Linked DNA regions of Homo sapiens: region 2 is linked to region 1. The links are contacts of gene promoters, found by promoter capture Hi-C in blood cells and fetal thymus (Javierre and others, 2016). All regions are on one chromosome and are shown on one strand. The core of a region is centred on a gene start or on the middle of the fragment in contact, and the rest is flanking DNA. Distances in the headings are between cores, read along the strand shown.

Region 1 (6,211 bases), core at 1,846-4,345:
AAATAGGCAAAATATGACCGTCAAGGAGTGGTGGGAACAGTGGGGCTGGCAAAGGCAGCAGAAGCTGCTTAGCTCTAGCCATTTTTGCCATCGGTCAATGTGGGGCCCGGAATGGCTTAGATCTGATCTTTTCCAGGAGAAGCCATAATGCCAGATTTTTATGTGGAATCTTCTGGCTTTTAAATGTTGTCAATTACTTTACATATGTTTACGTATACATATAAATATATATGTATATTATTTTATTTTATTTTTTGATATAGAGTCTCGCTCTGTCGCCCAGGCTGGAGTGCAGTGGCGTGATCTCAGCTCACAGGGTTTCACGGTGTTAGCCAGGATGGTCTTGATCTCCTGACCTCGTGATCTGCCTCCCTCGGCCTCCCAAAGTGCTGGGATTACACGCGTGAGCCACCGCGCCCGGCCTATTTTTTATTTTTTTGGAGATGGAGTACAGCTCTGTCACCCAGGCTGGAGTTCAGTGGCGCGATCTTAGCTCACTGCAACCTCCACCTCCCAGGTTCAAGCGATTCTCCTGCCTTGCCTCCTGAGTAGCTGGGATTACAGGCATGTGCCACCACATCTGGCTAATTTTTGTATTTTTGGTGGAGACAGGGTTTCGCCATGTTGGCCAGGCTGGTCTTGAATTCCCTACCTCAGGTGATCCTCCCGCCTCGGCCTCCCAAATTGCTGGGATTACAGGCGTGAGCCACTGCGCCTGGCCTATTTAAAGTCTTTCAGCAGAAGTAGTAATACGCACAGAGATGCATTTTGGGAAGATGAAATGTGCCAGTGTTATGTTCTAGAGCTGAGTTGTCCAGTATGGTAGCCACTGGCTACATGTGGCTATTTAAACTTAAAATAAAAAATTCAGATCCTCAATTATACTAGCTAGATTTCAAGTGCTCAACAGCCACATATGGCTAGTGGTTACCTTACTGGACAGTGCAGATATGCAGATATAAAAAATTTCCATCATCACAAAAAGTTGTTGGACAGTGGAGATAGGAGAGACTGAGGCAAAACAGCCAATTGGAGACCATTAATATTAGTCTAGGAGATGTTATCAAGTCATAAACTCCTACGACCACAGTGAGGATGGCTAGGAGGAGCAGGTGGAAAGTTGTCTTTAAGGAACTCCATCAAATGTCTGGCTAACAGCAGCAAGGGTAAACGCATGGTTTCCTTATTATTTTTTTTAAGTAATTTTCTTTGGAATTTCTCCAGCTCCATTATGTCTTTCTTGATTTCATAGAAATCCTAGTGGCTCATTTTCATGTACTAGCAGGACACTTCCCAAGAAGATGCAATGACCAGAAACTCCTACTGTTGAGTAGGCCCCACTTAGCAAGACCTACTGAATCAGAAACTCTGGGGGCCATCAGTCTGTTTTAAGAAGCTGTCCAGACTGCTGGGCCCCCAGAGATTCTGATTCAGTAGGTCTTGCTAGGTAGAAAAAAAGCAAAGAAGCTGTCCAGGTGATTCTGATAAAAATTAAAGTATGACTACCACTATAAATATAGTGGATTATCTTTCATGAGCCTTTCAGTGCTAAATTTGGGGGCCCTGTTAAAATACAAGCACTTTTGGCCTAGCTCTTTCACCCTCCATAGTACCCTTATCCATCCATCCATCCATCCATCCATCCATCCATCCATCCATCCATTTATCTAATTATTTACATTATCTGTGTTCAGAGTGCTTTAAAAGTAAAGAATAGGCCAGACATGGCTCAGTGGCTCATGCCTGTAATCCCAGCACTTTGGAAGGCCAAGGCGGTTGGATCAGCTGAGGTCAGGAGTTCAAGACCAGCCTGGCCAACATGGTGAAACCCCGTCTCTAATAAAAATACAAAAATTAGCCGAGCATGATGGCGTGCCTGTAGTCCTGGCTACTCAGGAGGGTGAGGCAGGAGAATCGCTTGAACCTAGGAGGCAGAGGTTGCAGTGAACCGAGATCAAACCACTGCATTCCAGCCTGGGCGACAGAGCAAGACTCTGTCTCAAAAAAAAAAAAAAAAAAAAAAGTCAAGAATAAAAAGTTTAAATACAATCCAATTTTTTAGCTATTGACCCAAATAATATGAAATCTTGAAAGCTAGTTTAGTTGCAGGAATATCTTCCCCCTGATATTGTTAACTTTCTTATGTTTTCTATAATCACGGAAAGGCAAAATTTACTTCCGAATTTTCAAAATAAGCATTTGTAATTCCATCAGAAACAACCCTACACCTGTTACTACCTAGGTTTTTATGGAGAATGTATTGGGAATACAGAAAAGGTATAAGCAAAGAGCCTGGCCTTTAGATCCTTTAGTCACTCTGGCTAGTGGCTAGGGATGACTAGTAAGATGACAGTCCTTAAGCGGATGACCATTGGACACATAAACATAGGACAACCACCTTCCATGCAATGTGGATAGAGTAACATGGTGTGTTGGAGAGATGCTCATTATTGGGGTGGGGGTGCTGGAGAAGGCTTCACGGGGCCCCTGACACATCAACGGCATTTGACATGAAAAGAAAGGGGCAAGGAGGTGGGGGTGGGGATTCAGTCACAGGGAACAAAATTAACAAAAGCAGTGGGGTCTGAAAGGAAGAGGAACGGCCGGGCAGTCAGGCCTCAGGAGGAAATGGATGGGGTAGGCGGTGGGGTGCAGGTAGCACGTCAGTTCTGGGGCTTTTGACAATATAGACAGGAGAATTTGAAAGGATGCAGCTTGCAAAACGCACACACTGTTGTCTCTTGTCATTGCCATCCACACGGCCTTTGAAAGTAGAGACAATACCTCAGAGATAAGCTCCCAGGGACGACCATCATTCATTCATTCCACAGATACTGACTGAGTGCCCACGGCGTGCCTGGCTCTGCGGCATACCTGGGTACCTGCCGGTGACGGACGCAGCCCCCGCCCTGGGACCTGCAGCCCCCGGCGCCCAGGCGTCTCCCAGCAGCGGCTCACCTGGCTCCTTGGCGGGGGCGGGAGTGCGGGCGCTGGGATCCCACACGGCTCTCGCCTGGCTGGCGGCGCTGCGGACGCGGATACCGGCGGCGGTTCCCGAGCCGTTGTGGCCTAGCCCGCGGGCGTTCCGGGCGGGCTGAGGAGATGAGAGTGGGGGAGGGGACGAGGAAGAGGAGCATGAGCAGCTGGGCTAGGGAGCCAGGAAAGTGGTACCTGGGTCGCCCTCCTCATACCTGAGTCGTGGGATCCCCTTGGTATTTGGTAAACCTGTATACCAAGGCTCCTTCTCTCTCCGAGGTTTTGCTATTCTTGATCGAGGGCCTATTTGGTGCCAGGCCTCGTGTCCTGAACATACAGCAGTGCACATGTGTCACATGTGTACTGCACAGACGGTAATTCACTAACGTCTCCGGAAGACTTAAGCCTTCCTCAGGTCAGAAGAGGTAAAAAGAAATGGAGGCTAGGAGGGTCACCCAGGTCTCCAACCATAGGCTGTCTGCCCCACAAACCCGGCTCTCCCCACTGAATGACACCCTCCTGCCCAGATCTGCTCTGGATGCAGACATGCCATCTGCACTCACTCCCTTTACCCTCCTCCCACCCTATCCCTGTCCCTAGCACTGTCTCTCACTCCACCTTGTATTCCTGCTTGGCCCAGTTACAGTTTTACACTTGTTTGTTTGATGACTGTGTTAATGTCTACCTTATAATGCACTTTATGTATTCCTTTTTGTAAATCATCTTACCCCTATGAGGGCAAGGACTTTTATCCCTTTCATTAACTGTTTTATTATCAGTGCCTACAGCAGTGTGGTGGACATAGGAAGTATTCAATTAATTTTTGTTGAATGATTGCCCTCCCATTGATTGTAAGCTCCACACCGGCAGCAACTGTAGTTTTTAATCACTTTTAAACTGCAAGTGTTTGACACCTAGTAGGCATTTAATACACATTGGTTGAATGAGTGTATGAATATACTGCTTACTTTATCTTTACCCTTTCATTCACCCTCACCTCATCATCCCAATTTGTAGGATAAAAATGTGCATTTCTGAGGATTCCTACTTCCAAGCTTCCTCCTCACCCTTTGTAACCATTCCCTCATTCCCTTGATCCCCCCAACCCCATCCCTCATGTCTTCACAATCATGTTTTTGCTCTTACTTCCCCTTCACCCTCCATTACTTCTTAGAAAGCTTCCTATCCTCCCTAGTTTGGAACATTCTCAAGCAACATGTTTTTGTAGATAAGAGAATTCCAGCCTAAGCTACATTGGATCCAAAACAGCTTTCCATGAATCACCCATGACTATCTGTTTTTTGGTTTTATATTGCTTTCCTTGAAGAGGACTGAGGATACTGTACCACTTGAAATCATGGTCACTGTTCATAATTTTTTCAACAAATATTTATGACACATGTTTTATGTTCTAGACATTGTGCTAGATGTTGGGACAAGATATGCAAAGTCTGAGCCCTCCAAGGTGTGTATGACACAAAATAGAATAATCACGGGAAATGTTGAGAAATGTCCTGGCTTGGATCTAGTTATTTCTAATACAAGAAACTAAGAGAATGAGACAGGATCTGATTCTTCTGCTCATTGTAACAAGCTTTAGCATAGGCATAGGTTGATAATGGATGTAGGCATGGGGTTAGAATGCCTTGCCCATTCACATTTATCTTGTTTGGTTTTTACAAATGACTCTGTTAGTCGGGAATGCAGGGCAGGAATTCTCTCGTAGAAGCTGGAACTGAGGTTCAGGAAAGGTCAGTTGACTTGCCTAAATTCGATGAGACTCCTGCCCTATTCTCCTTACTCGAAGAGGCCTGAGTTAAATGCTTAAAATCCTCTTCACTGATGGCTCTTCAGGATAGGAGTCAGTTTCAAATCTTCAGTGTAACGGTTTTTTAAATGCTTCTCAAAGGGAGATATCAGAGACTTTCCTGAATCAGAATCACCTAAGATGTATTATAAAAATGCATGCTCTTGATCAAGACCTCCTCTGACCTACCCAATTAGACTCCCTGTGAGTTCTGGGAACTTGCATCTTAAACTCCCAGGGTGATTTTTCTGCATGTAAGTTTAACTGGGAGAGTTTTAATGTAAAGCTTCGGTTTGTTTTTGTTTTTGTTTTTGTTTTTGAGACGGAGTCTCCCTCTGACGCCAGGCTGGAGTGCAGTGGCGCGATTTTAGCTCACTGCAACCTCCGCCTCCTGGATTCATGCAATTCTCCTGCCTCAGCCTCCCGAGAAGCTGGGACTACAGGGTCGTGCCACCACGCCCAGCTAATTTTTGTATTTTTTTTAGTAGAGACGAGGTTTCACCATGTTGGCCAGGATGGTCTCTATCGCTTGACCTCGTGATCCACCCGCCTCGGCCTCCCAAAGTGCTGGGATAACAGGTGTGAGCCACTGAGCCCAGCCCCTGGAAAGCCTCAGCTTTGATGCAGGGTTAACATTTGCCTTTGGGACATATTTCGTCAGCATCTCAAAGAGTAACCCATATGTCCTTGAGCAGATGGGAATGCAACAGCCTTCTGGCCGGAACCTGTCTCTTTCTTTCTTTCTTTCTTTTGAGACGGAGTTTCGCTCTTGTTGCCCAGGCTGGAGTGTAATGGCACGATCTCGGCTCACCGCAACTCCGCCTCCCGGGTTCAAGCGATTCTCCTGCCTCAGCCTCCCGAATAGCTAAGACTCCAGGTGCGCGCCACTACGCCCGGTTAATTTTGCATTTTTAGTAGAGACGGGGTTTCTCCATGTTGGTCAGGCTGGTCTCGAACTCCCGACCTCAGGTGATCCGCCCGCCTCGGCCTCCCAAAGTGCTGGGATTACAGGCGTGAGCCACCACGCCCGGCCACTTGTCTCTTTTTTATGCAAGTGTTTTTTGGAATTTGGGGGTTCAGGTGAGCAGGTGCTCTGCTGCTGGTAACTACTCGCAGTTAAAGATCTTTTGACTCTTTCCCCGACACGCTATTTGTCAGTGTCGTTTTCCACCACAGAGCCAGGTATTTGCCCCGCCGGCCACGGTGAGGCGCGCGAGGCGTGTGCTGCCAGCTTCTCTCTTCCTTCCCCGGTCCGCCTTCGCGCCCTTAAGGAGACAGTCCCTGGGAGTTTCTGCCTTTGGTCTCCAGTTATTGTTCTCTTCTCGCGAGAACTGCTCCTCCCATCCTCTTCTCTCACGAAGCCCCGCCCGCGGAGAGGTTCCATATTGGGTAAAATCTCGGCTCTCGGAGAGTCCCGGGAGCTGTTCT
Region 2 (5,758 bases), core at 1,335-3,834, 330 kb after region 1:
GAGACAGGGTTTCACCATGTTGGCCAGGCTGGTCTCGAACTCCTGGCCTCAACTTATCTGCCCACCTTGGCTTCCCAAAGTGCTGGGATTACAGGTGTGAGCCACCGCACCCAGCCCATAAGCTCTTAAAGTATGGATTTGAGAGAAAACTAGAATCATATCTAAATATCAGGCCTTTAATCCCTGTAGGAGGAGATGGTACACATGGCATTGTCGATTGATCCTGGGAATATTTGACACCACTCAGTTTAATATCCTGAGCTCCAAGGCAGTCATTCCCTCTGATTCATCCCAGAACAAAGGACGTCTTAAAAACCTCTCATTACAGGAACTCTCCTCCTACGACAGAGATAAGTGGTAGGCCTGGCAGTGAACTTAAAGAGTATCAAACAATCCCTTGACTAAAAATTGTACCTCCTTAAGAAATAGACCTTTCATAATTGTGCAAGACAGAAACCACAACTCAAACCAACATAAGTGAAAAGGAGATGTATTCGAAAGCTATTGGGATTGTCAAAGAATTGAAGCAATTACAGCTATCAAAATTTCACATGTGGCTGGGCACAGTGGCTCACGCCTGTAATCCCTTCTCTTTGGGAAGCCAAGGCAGGTGGATTGCATTGAGCTCAGGAGTTTTGAGACCAGCCTAGGCAACACAGTGAAACAATGATGAGCAATGATGGCACCATTGCACTCCAGCCTGGGTAAAAGAGTGAGACCCTGTCTCAAAAAAAAAAAAAAAACAAAAAAAAACACAAACAAACACACGTATCCCAAACATATATACAACTATTATATATCAATTTTTTAAAAAGAATTGAAGAAAGATCTGCAGGGATCATGACAGCTCCGAGAGCCCCAAGATTAGAAGTGGAGACCAGACCCTCCAGGGACTTCACCTCACCTTTCTGCCCCTCTGGTGTCCCCTCATGGCAGAAGACACAGCTGCCACTAGCTTGGGGTAACTTCCCAGCCAGACACAGAAAGAGAAATCCCAGGGAAGGACCCTGATTGGCCTATCCTGGATCATGCACCATCTGGACCAGTTGCTGTGGCCACGGAAATGGGCTTCTCTTAATGGCCCAGCCTGGGCTACAGGGCCCTCCCCAACTGCTGGGGGCAGGACACTGTGATGGAGTAGGAAAAGAGTTACTCCCAGAGACAAAGTTATTACCAGGAGGATGGTAGATGGAATGCTGGGCTGACACCTGCATTACTTCACAGCCAGTCTCTCCTAAGGATTAAGGCATTGTCCTGTGAAGATGTGTGTATCAAGTGGAGATACACTATGGAGGGAAATTTGCGGGACCCCATCACCACCCGTGAAAACATCATCACAGGTTAATTCATCAAAGTTCTATGCCATAACGCAAAGAAGCAGCTGTAAAGGATTGGAAGCCAGCATGGAGTTTTGATGGGAAGTTGGGAGAAGATATATGGCAGACAGTGCATTACAAATTATCTCTTTTTTTTGGATCCACAAGGAGAAACCTATGTTTTAATCTACATGTAGGGAGCCAGGTATCTCAGGAAAATCAAGATACCATTTGCCACTGAGAGGGCTGCTGAATGTCAGTTGAACAGATTTCAACTGAAAGCCTAAAAGGTCCAGGGGAAGGAGCAGTGACACAGCTTGGAAAGGATATGGCTGCACAGAGAGGGCAGCGCACAGAAGCTGCAGCCTTAAGTAGGAGAACACAGCCAACCTGTGGGAGCCAGCAGGGAGGGACTAGAGAAATAAAATACCTTGGCAATCTCCGACCAGAGAGTTTCTTGACTAAAACCAACCAGGAGCCAGAGGACAGGAAGCCCACTGGGGCAATCCATACAGGACAGTCTCCTGGCCACAGAGCAGGATGAAGAGGGGTGGAGAATGGTGTAAATAAGAGGAAAAGTCACTCAAAAGGAGCAAGGAATATAGGTGGAATATCACAAGCCTGAGTTCTGACAACAAATATGGGCAGAAATGATGGGCGCCTCCCATAAGAACACCTCCCCGGCCACGTGCGCTGGCTCATGCCTGTAATCCCAGCACTTTGGGAGGTCAAGGCAGGCAGATCACCTGAGGTCAGAAGTTCGAGACCAGCCTGGCCAACATGGAAAAACCCTATCTCTACTAAAAATATAAAAAATTAGCCAAGTTTGGTGGCACACACCTGTAATCCCAGCTACTCGGGAGGCTGAGGCATGAGAATCACTTGAACCTGGTAGGTGGAGGTTGCAGTGAGCCAAAATTGTACCACTGCACTCCAGCCCAGGTGACAGAGTGAGATTCTGTCTCAAAAACAAAAACAAAAACAAACAAAAAAACACCTCCCCAATCCTTCACGCTTTCTCCTCCCTACCTGCGGGCTGGGTGTCAATCCCCCATACAGAAACCACATGAAGGAGACAGTACAACCTCCATCAGCCTGGGTCCCCAGATGACTTCATGGGGAAGATCCCTCCCCACCCATGAACCAAGCTTTATGTGGCCAAGAAAATGAATGTCTATCACATCAAGCCACTGAGATTTCAGTTGAGATGCTATGGCCAGCATGACTCTAACTGATACAGTAGCTGCAGATGACGTAGGGCTGGCCTCCTTAGAAGGGAAGCTGGACTTTGATCTGGACATGTCTTCCTCACTTAAAAGCTGGGTGAATTAATTTGCATTGTCAGAAAGGCACTTCATCTTGCTCAAAATAAAGATGTGGTTGAGCTGCCAAGCTTTTGTTTCTGTCATTTCACTGGGGGCCTTCTGCTGCTGGCTCTAGTTCAGGTCTCCTGCTTTGTCAAAGGCCCTTTTTTCTTTTGGTGGCCAATCAAGACCCAGCTTGGTAAATTACTCACTGGTCAGTCAGGAAAAAATAATGTTCTTATTGCAAATCACTTTAGAGTTTGCAGAGGGCTAGAGTTGGCATATTCTGTTCCTAAGGTTGGAAGGGTCCCTGGCTGAAAGCCCAGAATCCCAGAATCTCAAGGTCCCCCTGATGTTCAGTTTCCCCATCCCCCAAACCCTAACACTGGGTCAGCTCACTGACCCTTGTGGGGGTGGTGGAGAAGAAAGTGCCTTTGTTGGTGCTTTAGAAGCTCTCTAGAGATTTGCACGCCACGTTCAGCCACCCACAATCAGCTGTCCCCTGAGAATCTGATATGTACTCCCCACCCCACACCACAGGTCGAGAACCTGAGCTTGTCACTGGCTGGAGCATATGATCATGTGACTGAGGGGAAAGCTCTTCCTGCTCAGAATTGCTGGAATTTTAAGAGCCATATTTAGAACTCTGGGGCTTTCCAGCCAGAGCACTTTCAACAATACACCGTGCTTCCTTGAGTTAGGATGTTTAGATGGGCCAGATCTAGAGAACTGAGGTCTATTCAGGAGACTTTGTGATCTCGGTCTTAGCTGATGGCTCCCCCAAAGGAAGAGGATGGGAGAGGGGCAGCTCTAGGCCAAGATGGTCTTCTCCACCCAGCCTGTCTACATTATTCATATCCATTAAGATTGCATTGGGTTGCACATAACAAACTAACAACAGTGTCCATCTTTCATGGTGTGACCTGCAGATTAAACAGAAAGGGGATGGACAGGCTGGGCGAAGTGGCTCACACCTATAATCCCAGCACTTTGGGAGGCCAAGGTGGGCAAATCACCTGAGGTCGAGAGTTCAAGACCAGCCTGACCAACATGGAGAAACCCTGTCTCTACTAAAAATACAAAAATTAGCCAGGTGTGGTGGTGCACGCCTGTGATCCCAGCTACTCAGGAGGCTGAGGCAGGAGGACCACTTGAACCTAGGAGGCGGAGGTTGCGGTGAGCCAAGATTGCACCATTGCTCTCCAGCCTGGGTAACAAGAGCGAAACTCAGTCTCAAAAAAAAAAAGAAAAAAGAAAAAAAGAAAAAAGAAAGAAAGGGGACAGTCTACTACAGGAGAGAAAGTGACATAGGTAAAGATGATTTGTTCCTGCTTACACATGTTTTTTACATCTCTGACAGCTCAATTTAAATTTGGCCCCTCTCACTTGATTCTATTTTATTTTCCTTCATAGTACATATCACCACCTGCCATTTTATTCTGTATTGATTTGTTTATTTATCTGTTCTGGTCACCACAATATTCCTGTTTCTAGACAGTGCTTAACCTACAGTAGGTGCTCAATGAATGTTAAATAAATGAATGCATTATTTCATTTGAAATTTCTCAACTCCATGTGCTAAGCAGGGCAAAGGATGTTGTCTTTCATTTTACAAAAGTAGAAAGTGAGTCCTAGAAGGGTGGTGTAACTAAAGCCAGTAGAAAACTAAGGAAGCCTCAGTCCTTTTTTTTTTTCTTTTGAGACCGAGTCTCACTCTGATGCCAGGCTGGAGTGAGTGGCGCGATCTCGGCTCACTGCCTCCACCTCCCGGGTTCAAGTGATTCTCCTGCCTCAGCCTCCCAAGTAGCTGGGACTACAGGCATGTGCCACCATGCCCAGCTAATTTTTTTATTTTTAGTAGAGACGGAGTTTCACCATGTTGGCCAGGATGGTCTCGATTTCTTGACCTCGTAATCCGCCCGCCTCGGCCTCCCAAAGTGCTGGGATTACAGGCATGAGCCACTGCACCCGGCCAGTCTTTTTGATTCCTAATCAGGTCTACATGGGTAGGGTGAGGGTAGAGAGGCTCTGACATGCCCCTAGCAGATGTCCCAGATCTGTAAGAGGCCTCATCTAGGCCCCTGCTGACAAACTACTCAAGGATAAAGTGATCATAAGAAGAGGAGATAAGAAGTTATTCCCAATAAAGAGAATGGGAAAATAGGAATTGCAGAAACCAGTGGCCTGTGGGTTAGGAGAGGAGGCTGATGCTATCAACGGACAGCTGGCTTATGGTGCCCCTCAATTCCACCCCCACCCCTGCTACTTACTTTGCCCCCTGGAGGTGTGAGTTCCCCGTCACTGGAGGTGTTCAAGCAGGGCCTGGATGTCTACTTACAGAGCATGCCTGAGCTGGAGAGTACACATCTCCCCGTGAGAGAAGGCAGGCTTGCTGTCCATAGAACATTCAGTCAGCCACCGCCCGGCCCCACACTAACACAAAAAGAGGCTTTTGCACCACCTAGTGGACATGGTTTTAAACTGCAGGCCTTTCCGTGGAGAGAAGCCCACAGCCCAGAATCCCATTTCCCGTGCAGTCTCCCTGACCCCCTCAAGGATCAGAAGGCCCACAGCCCCACTGTGCTTCCAGACCTCAGCCCTGCAAAAGGGAAGTTGGAAAAAGAGAGCAGAAGCCTGTGATTCTCCGGAGGGAAACTCTCCCTGGTGCCTCTCAAGCCGAATTCACTAGCACCACTTTGTCCAGTACTGTCCCCAATAGGCACACTTCTCACGTCATCTCTCCCTGGGGACTGCAATGGTTTGCTCATCAGCTACATCTGTTTCCCCTACTTCTGTGCAAACTTTCCAAGCCAGGGCCCTATTCCCCTTTGTTTACTCACCATCACTCCCCATCCCCAGTATATGAGCAATTAACTCAAAAGGATTCGGGACTTTAAAAAAATCAAGATCACGATTAAAATATTTCTGAGTTGCATATACTGGTTTCAGAACAACCTGCTTTAAACTCCTCACTCAAGTTCTGGGGCTGTCCCATTGGTGGCTTAGTTCCCACCGAGGTCCTTTGAGGGCCGAGGTGTCACTGAGGGAGCTCGCCAGCAGCGCAGGGCCCTGACACCGGCATTCAACAGGCTCCCTCTGAGCTCACACTGCCCTCGCATTTACCACCAGATACGGACA

What was found. The method cuts DNA at HindIII sites, captures the fragments that hold promoters and counts their contacts. A CHiCAGO score of 5 or more calls a contact.
Region 2: a fragment that was not itself captured here is called in contact with the fragment with the promoter of SLC26A8 in region 1 in 15 of 17 cell types (total CD8 T cells, naive CD4 T cells, total B cells and 12 more); the score reaches 27.3 in total CD8 T cells.

What each region holds. Positions count from the first base shown.
Region 1 is chr6:36,021,546-36,027,756 of GRCh38, forward strand. SLC26A8 (solute carrier family 26 member 8) reads right to left here and starts at 3,096. Exons shown (of 20, transcript NM_052961.4): 1 at 2,959-3,096. RefSeq lists enhancers at 2,541-3,042, 3,043-3,542, 5,874-6,211. The HindIII fragment of the contact is 10,062 bases long and covers 1-4,029 here.
Region 2 is chr6:36,355,597-36,361,354 of GRCh38, forward strand. It overlaps a transcript of ETV7 not described here. Among named protein-coding and RNA genes, the nearest start is that of BNIP5, 22 kb to the left of the region's middle. RefSeq lists an enhancer at 5,488-5,647. The HindIII fragment of the contact is 245 bases long and covers 2,463-2,707 here.